Linked DNA regions of Homo sapiens: region 1 is linked to region 2. Evidence: promoter capture Hi-C in 16 types of primary human blood cells and fetal thymus (Javierre and others, 2016). All regions are on one chromosome and are shown on one strand. The core of a region is centred on a gene start or on the middle of the fragment in contact, and the rest is flanking DNA. Distances in the headings are between cores, read along the strand shown.

Region 1 (3,592 bases), core at 455-2,954, 590 kb after region 2:
TACCACTATAAAATGAGGAGGCTCATCCATCAAGCCTTTGAGTACCAAGCCCTGTACACGTTACTAAACCTCATAATCAACAAAGCGGCAATGGACCTGTCCAGGTACTTTACAGGTTGATTTTTCTAAACAAAATTACAAGACTAGATTACTAAGATTATAAGTGCTATTATAAGGACAAAGATGATGATGTTGGCACTCAAGGGATAGGAGTGCTAACTCTCATTAGAGGAAGGAATCTTTTATGAGTTAATTGTTCTGAGTCCATAAAACTTCTTTAGCATTTATTAAAATTTCACTCTTTCCATTACTTCTAAGTTTAAATCAAGAATCAAATGCTGATTTGCATCCAGTATTCGAAACAATGGGAAGACTTTCCATGTATATATTTTTTGCCTGCATTTTACCTGCTATACATATTTATGTTTCTATTGTTCTACAAATGCATTTTTCTCAACTTCAAAATTGGTCTAATTAACATCTTCCTCCCATTTACCTAAAAATGGGCTTATGGATTCTGCCAGAAGATTCCACAACCATACCAAATTGGTATTATTATAAGTAGCTGACAATTTTAGCTACATCCTAAACTCCAGCCAAATGTTCAACCCCAAATCCAAGGGCTCTAGATTCCTCCCTCTATTATCCCCTAAATCCAGAGTATCAATATATCCTATCAATTCTAATTGCCAAATATCTCATTTATTCCACTTTCTACATCCCTGCTGTCGGGTCCTTATCCACTCTTTCCTAGATCACTGCTTCCATGATATTTACAAAATCCAAATCAGATCACATCACTCCTTTCTACAAAATTATTCAATGGCTCCCCATGATCCAATCCTACAGAATAAAAGCTTAACTGCCTTTAAACAACATAAAACGGATTTTATGGTTTTGTCCTTCACTGCCTTATCTACAGCCATTTTGTCATCTGTGTTTCTGAAATGCTGGGCTAACAGTTGTCATGCACACATACCACAATCCCTCCAATCCCTCCTGCTACCATACCTTTACCTAAGCTGATCCCCCTGCCTAGAATATCCACTTCCTGCTTCTCCTCCTGACAAATGCTTGCATGTCTTTTGAGCCTCAGTTTAAGCAGAATATTATATAATGCCTGAAAGAAGGTGTTGAGTCAATTTTTTTTATTATTGTGGTAAGAACAAACATGAGATCTACCTTCTTAATACATTCAGTGCAAAAGACAGTACTGTTAACTATAGGCACAATGTACAGCAGATCTCTAGAACTTACGCATCCCGCATGACTGATACTTTATACCTGCTGAGCATGTTTATAAACAAACGCTAAATAATAAAATGAATAATCAGAACATTTATAGAGTGCTAAATTTATGCCAGTACTATTCTAAGCACTTCAAATATGTGAACTCATTTAATTGCCTCAAACTCCTAGAGGCAGGCAACTATTATCCCGTTTTTAAAGATGAATAAAATGAGAACAAAGAGGTCTCATGCCCAAAGTCACAAACTCTAGCAGGCTGCAGATCTCAGATTAAAGGAGAAGCATCCTGACTCCAAAGTTCATGATTTCAGTCATGTTAGTATTAAAATAAAAACATATCCTGTGAAAAATACTTTCACTTTATAGAGCAACTGTCACTTCAGTAGTGACTATAAAGTCTGGTTATTATACTTTTTACAAAAGACAAGCAAGGACAGAGAAAACCTTCAAGCTCTAATAGTTTCATAAAGCATTACTTGCTACTCAGCAATATCTCACCACATTAAAAACATTGAGTTCCAAACCTGTACAGAAAAAAAAAAAGTCAAAGAATTTAGAGGATAAACTCATGAACCATATTCCCTCTTTCAAAGATAAATCATTCATATATTAATTTATTCATTTAAATACTTATTATATATGCCAGATATTATCTTAGGAACACTAGCCTCAATTTTTACTTTTCAACCTGAAGAACCTGAGAATGACAACTTTAATATATTTTCTACAAAAATTCCACTTCCAGAAGTACTGTCAAGTTCCCAAAAAGAAAAAAAAATGCCTATACTTTAAGAAAAGCGCTTTTTTTGGTAATCAATGTATACAATTACCTATTTAGGTAATTATTTTTATATTACACGTACTGAATATAACATTGCATATATAAGTAGAGCATTTAGGATCCTGATGCCACCTTGTGGTTAAAATACAGTATTTTCTTATTCATTGTAACCCACCACAGGTTTTTTTTTTTTTTAAGGTATGAAATAGGTGGATTATTGCTTTCCTGATTATCTACCATAAACTTCTAATTATATACATCCACCTGTCTCAGACAAATTTTTAGTTGCTATATATGCTCGCATTTTCTTAATAACGAAGTTCAATTATGTTCCTCTTCTCTCCAGCATTGATTTCACTCACTATACTTAGAAGGTACATTTTAACAAGTTAATTGTTTCATTATGCATCTGTTTGCATTTTTGTAGTTTTTTATAGTTTATGAGATGCACTTCAATAAACTCTCACAATTTTGCAGGAATAGAAAGAGGGTTATTTTTAGCTTCCTCATCATGAGGATACTGAAGCTTAACTTATTTGCTGAAGTCATATATAATATACAGAGGCCTTTCCCCCAGTGTCCTGGATATTATTCTAGTGTTCTTTGCTCTGCTTACATCCTTTGCTCATTTCAAAGTTAATGAGATTGTGGGGTCAGGAAGAAAGGAGCAGTTCCCCAATACATGCCTGAAATAAAGTTTTGTCTGACGTTACCACTGGTATCTAATATGCAAAGTATGAAATATTTACCAGCACTGTATTTACTGATGATATGCAAGGAGATTTTTATGAAGGTTAACATCAACTAATAATTCCTTTATAAAATACAAAGAATGAAAAACAAAAAATCCTTAACCTTGCATATACAAGTTCATGAATGGTGGCCCAGGGTATGTGACAGGACTTGGTCTCCGTTTCATTCTATCTTTGTTCCTTTATGCTTAAAATTCAGTAAAATTGTGGGCAGAACTAACTGTAATCCCAGATCACACCAGGAACTTTCCTTTGGAAAACTGAATCTTAGTAGATTTTCATAGGCAATACAGAGATCAAATGGAGATTCTCTTAAGGAGTGCCTGGATGCTTCAACAAACAACAGCAGCAATAACATAACTCATCCTTCAAATATACAAATGTCAAGAAAATTTTCTGGCACAATGTTGGTATGGCAAAGACTGTTAGAAGGATTAGTCTCAATATTGCTGTAACTCTAATCTTTGGAGTGTGAGAGGGATTAGACAGCATTCCATTCCAGTTCCACACCTACAAACAAAACTGAAGCTCACAGGTCTAGGTGTCTGGAGATCCACAGCTATGGATGCTATGGATGACTAAAGGTGCTTTGGCTTTGTGCTTTGGCTTTCTATCAGGCAACAGCCTAGATGCAAGACAAAATACAACAGGTCTGTAAAATTGAAGTTAGACAAAATACAACAGGTCTGTAAAATTGAAGTTAGACAAAATACAACAGGTCTGTAAAATGGAAGTTAAGTCTGTCTTTTTTTCTTAAATATATACTAGCTACCATATAAAAATTTTGGGACTGATTATCTTAAAATAAACT
Region 2 (3,943 bases), core at 86-2,585:
TTTGTTGAGCTTCCAGTGTGCATCAAGTACTATGCCAAGTTTTCTACTTGTTTCTGGACGTATTTTGAGACAGTATAGTATAGCAATTATGTCTGTAGGTTTCAAACTGGAGCCACTTACTTGCTATATGACTTTGCCCAAACTACTTAAGGTTTCTGCATCTGTTTCCCCGTCTGCAAAGTAGGGCTAGTAACTTTACCAAAGTTACTGTGAGAATTAAATGAAAATATGAAAAGTCCTTAGGATTGTTTCTGGCATCTGGCTCAATATTTGGTAATATCATATATTATTTTATTCTCACAATCCCCACTTTAAACAGGGTCTGTCTGGCTCCAAAGTCCCTGCTAATTCCTCACTGTTGTAGTATATTTAAAAATTAAAAATATACTTTAACAAAATTTAAATTGGTAGACATTCATTAGTTCCTTGAATATATGGAGAAAATACATTAGGAGTTAATGTGGAAGAAATCACCTTGAGGTTGGGAATAAGGAGATCTGTGTTACTCGGTGAATATTCTGGGCATGAAGTTCCTTGTTAATTAGAGAATCAACATGAGCTAGGTTCTTTATTGTCTAATATTCCATGAATCTAATATTATCTATACATAAATAGTTGGTTCCTAAAGGTGGTTTTTTCTTTCCTTGTCTGCATTTAATTTCGAGCTGTCTTCAAAGGAAGCAAAACTGAAGTTATGCATACCGAATGCCAAACAACCCTATCTGTGAAAGTTGGTTTTACAAGAGCATAGAACCCAGTTCGGCAGTTCGCCTCTGCCAAATGTCCCTGCAAGCTGATTAGTGGTAGCGTCAAGCCTATCGCTAGTTCTCCTCATCTAACCCATTTTCTTAGTCATTGTCATTTAAACCACTTATACTTTATACTTCTAGTCCTATTTGCAAATCCATCTTTTAGCTTTATAACCCACCTCCCCCTAGCCCTTAATTTCAAAGGTCCACCGGATATATGTGGTTGTTTTGCGCCAAACTAGCAGTTTACAAGAAAACTACATCAAACAAGAAAAAGAACCATTACGATGCATCTATGTTTTCCCTTAAGTGCGGAATTTCACACTGCAGCCCTCGTCTTCAAACACCTAAACAATGCACCTAGGACCTTCATTTATTATTCCGTGCCCACCCACACCCTAAAAATCGCTCTCTTCACCCCAATTGCTCGAAATGCCTGTCACTCCAAGCACTTTGACTAGCCCAAGAGCCTCATTTAAACTTTAGCCCCACTCTCTCCTCCTCGCCCCGCCCCGAAGCTAATCCCTGATTGGATGAGGCACCACTCCTCGTGGGGCTGCTTAGGCCACCGCGCGCGCTGCGCGCTGGGAAACGAGTGGAGACACGAGGACCAGCGCGAGCGGTCCCGGTGGGCTACCCTCCCCCTGCGACGACCCCCCCTCGCTCTGACCGACTGGTCCCCTAAACGGTGGCGGCGGTTTTTGGTCGTTGGGCCCCGGGATTTAGGACCAACATTTGAAGACCCGAAGGGGTGAGGAGGGGAAAGGGGAAACGGGGTCACTACCAGACCACTGCTAACGGCTGGATAGTGCCCGGCTCACTCTCACGCCGAATACACAGTGGGGGCTGGCGGCGGTGGCTGCGGGGTTCACCCTCGTCCTTCCCCAGCCCCGTCGAGCAGTGGGAGGGCAAGTGTCCGAGACGCTGCTTCCTGCCCCGGCAGCATCCGGCCAGAAGGCGCCCTCGCCGTCACCCAGGCGCTGCATGGTGAGGGCCCAGCGGCCAGTCTCTTTGGGGCGTCTGGCGGCCTCTTCCGCCCCGCGGCGCCCTGCGCTCTCCGCCTTATTTCCGCTCTCCCCCGCTGCCTTCCGGCCGCTTCCCACCTGTGCTGCATTTCGTGTTATTTTCCTGACACGCTTACGCCGACGACCAACGACCGCTGCAGGCCCGGGCCGCTGCCTGGCCGTTGTAGGGTCCGCGCGTCCCCTGGAGGCTTTGGACGCCGTCTGGGGCGTCCCGACGGCTGGGTGAGATTCAGCAGTCTGGTTTCAGAATTGAATTCAGGCTGGGTGAGCTTTAGCGGGCTCCTAGTCGTTTGCGTGGAGTTCTAGCCGGGACTGAGCCTCGAACTTTACTTTGCCTTTGTCTCCCTGTTTCTTCCCCGAGTACCTCGTGTGTGCTGGGCTGTGGGCAGTGGGAGGCCGCGGGTGCACAGGGAAGATAGCTCGCCTCTCCCCCGACACACGGACGGCAGCACACGTCGTGGCACCGCCTTTGTTTCCTAACATCTGGTAGTTTTTAAACCCCTAATTTAAAAATGTTTCTTTGGAGCTGCTGGAAAAACCACAGAACCAGCGGCATTTAATCCTGGCGTTGATATTCTGAGATATTGCGAAGCTGCTTGATTTATTTGGGCACCAGTTTTCTCCTATGTAAATTTAGCTTAGGTAATATTTAAGTTCTTTAAGCTTTAACTGTCTTTACATTCTTGATAAATTCCCCGTAACCTTTATGTTATGTGGTAATCCTAATATAGGCAAATATCAAAGAGGAAATATCATAAGGAGTTTTTTTGTTTTGTTTTTTGTTTTGTTTTGAGACGGAGTCTCGCTCTGTCTCCCAGGCGGGAGAGCAGTGGCAGGATCTCGGCTGACTGCAACTTCCGCCTACCGGGTTCAAGCGATTCTCCTGCCTCAAACTCTCGGGAGTAGCTGGGACTACAGGCGCGCGCCACCACGCACAGCTGATTTTTGTATTAGTAGAGACAGGGTTTCACCATGTTGGCCAGGATGGTCTCGATCTCTGGACCTCATGATCCACCCGCTTCGGCCTCCCCAAGTGCTGGGATTACAGGCGTGAGCCATCGCCGCCGAGCTTTTTAAGTCTTGGCTTCTCTTAAAAATTGGCCTGATTTTGTGTTTGAGAATGGCGTTATAACCAGGAAGCAGGATATGTTGCGTGTATAAGGAGAATAACATATAAAGGACATGTTCAAGGGTCTGTAGAATTTTGCTTATTTAAATAATGGGAAGATATTTTCGTTTCAAGAATCACCACGATGTATATACAGTTTGACAGACTTCCATTTGGATCTTTTCAGAATTGAATCTCCTTATGGGGGTCTAATAATAGACTTGTTTTCAGGGCACACGTTTAAAACATTCTACTTTAAACTTTGTTTGCATCTGTCTGCATTTGTTTGCATTGTTAATAAAATTTGTTTGCATCTTTATAGACATAAAGATGACAGTGCTGCCTGCAATCACTAAATATTAATGCTTTCTGCTTAAGGCACTGCTTTGATTGCTGATTTTCACTTAAGAGGTTGGAGTAATGTACTTGAATATTATTGCCAAATATAATACATATCAACACTTAAAATATATGCATTACTGGATATATTATGAAACAAGAATTATTAATAACGAGAACAAACCCAGTTTATGGACTGAAATTAAGTCTCAGGTTTAATGGTGTTATTTTATTGTTAGGAGAAGGAAGACATGTCAGTTTAAGTAGAGTTTGTGACTACAAATCAAGTAATTGCTGTAAAAATTGTCCAGATTTGCATATTAATGCCGAATGTTATTTCTCATTTTACTACCCGATGATTGATGAGGCAAGAAAATGTGATCTCTATGTTCAAATTGGTAACAGATTTAAAATAACAGATTATGAAGGACCTTGTGTAAGGAATGGTGTACTTAATTTGGACAAGAATATGTAGATATCTTTATCCTGAATTCAAACAGCATATACACCTTTGTGTTCAAAGCAGTATTTTTTAAAAGTATTAGTTACAGTTTTTTTAAATAGTTCAATTTTTAAGTCATTCAGAATTTAAACTTAATATTAAAACTTTTATCCATTATATATTTAACTTCTAGCAATAAAATGTGCTCTCATTCTTTAATAAAAACAACTTAAAATGGAATTGAACTGATCCATCTGTACACTTATTTCGAAATAATTTT

The links. The method cuts DNA at HindIII sites, captures the fragments that hold promoters and counts their contacts. A CHiCAGO score of 5 or more calls a contact.
Region 1: a fragment that was not itself captured here is called in contact with the fragment with the promoter of RBM46 in region 2 in 4 of 17 cell types (megakaryocytes, endothelial precursors, M1 macrophages and 1 more); the score reaches 5.8 in megakaryocytes.

The regions. Positions count from the first base shown.
Region 1 is chr4:155,369,507-155,373,098 of GRCh38, forward strand. The region is part of intron 4 of MAP9 (microtubule associated protein 9); the gene reads right to left. Among named protein-coding and RNA genes, the nearest start is that of MAP9, 5.7 kb to the right of the region's middle. The HindIII fragment of the contact is 1,698 bases long and covers 856-2,553 here.
Region 2 is chr4:154,779,937-154,783,879 of GRCh38, forward strand. RBM46 (RNA binding motif protein 46) reads left to right here and starts at 1,336. Exons shown (of 5, transcript NM_144979.5): 1 at 1,336-1,500. It overlaps LOC105377500 (a long non-coding RNA gene), which reads right to left and starts at 1,937. Exons shown (of 4, transcript NR_188451.1): 1 at 1,853-1,937. The HindIII fragment of the contact is 3,692 bases long and covers 1-2,435 here.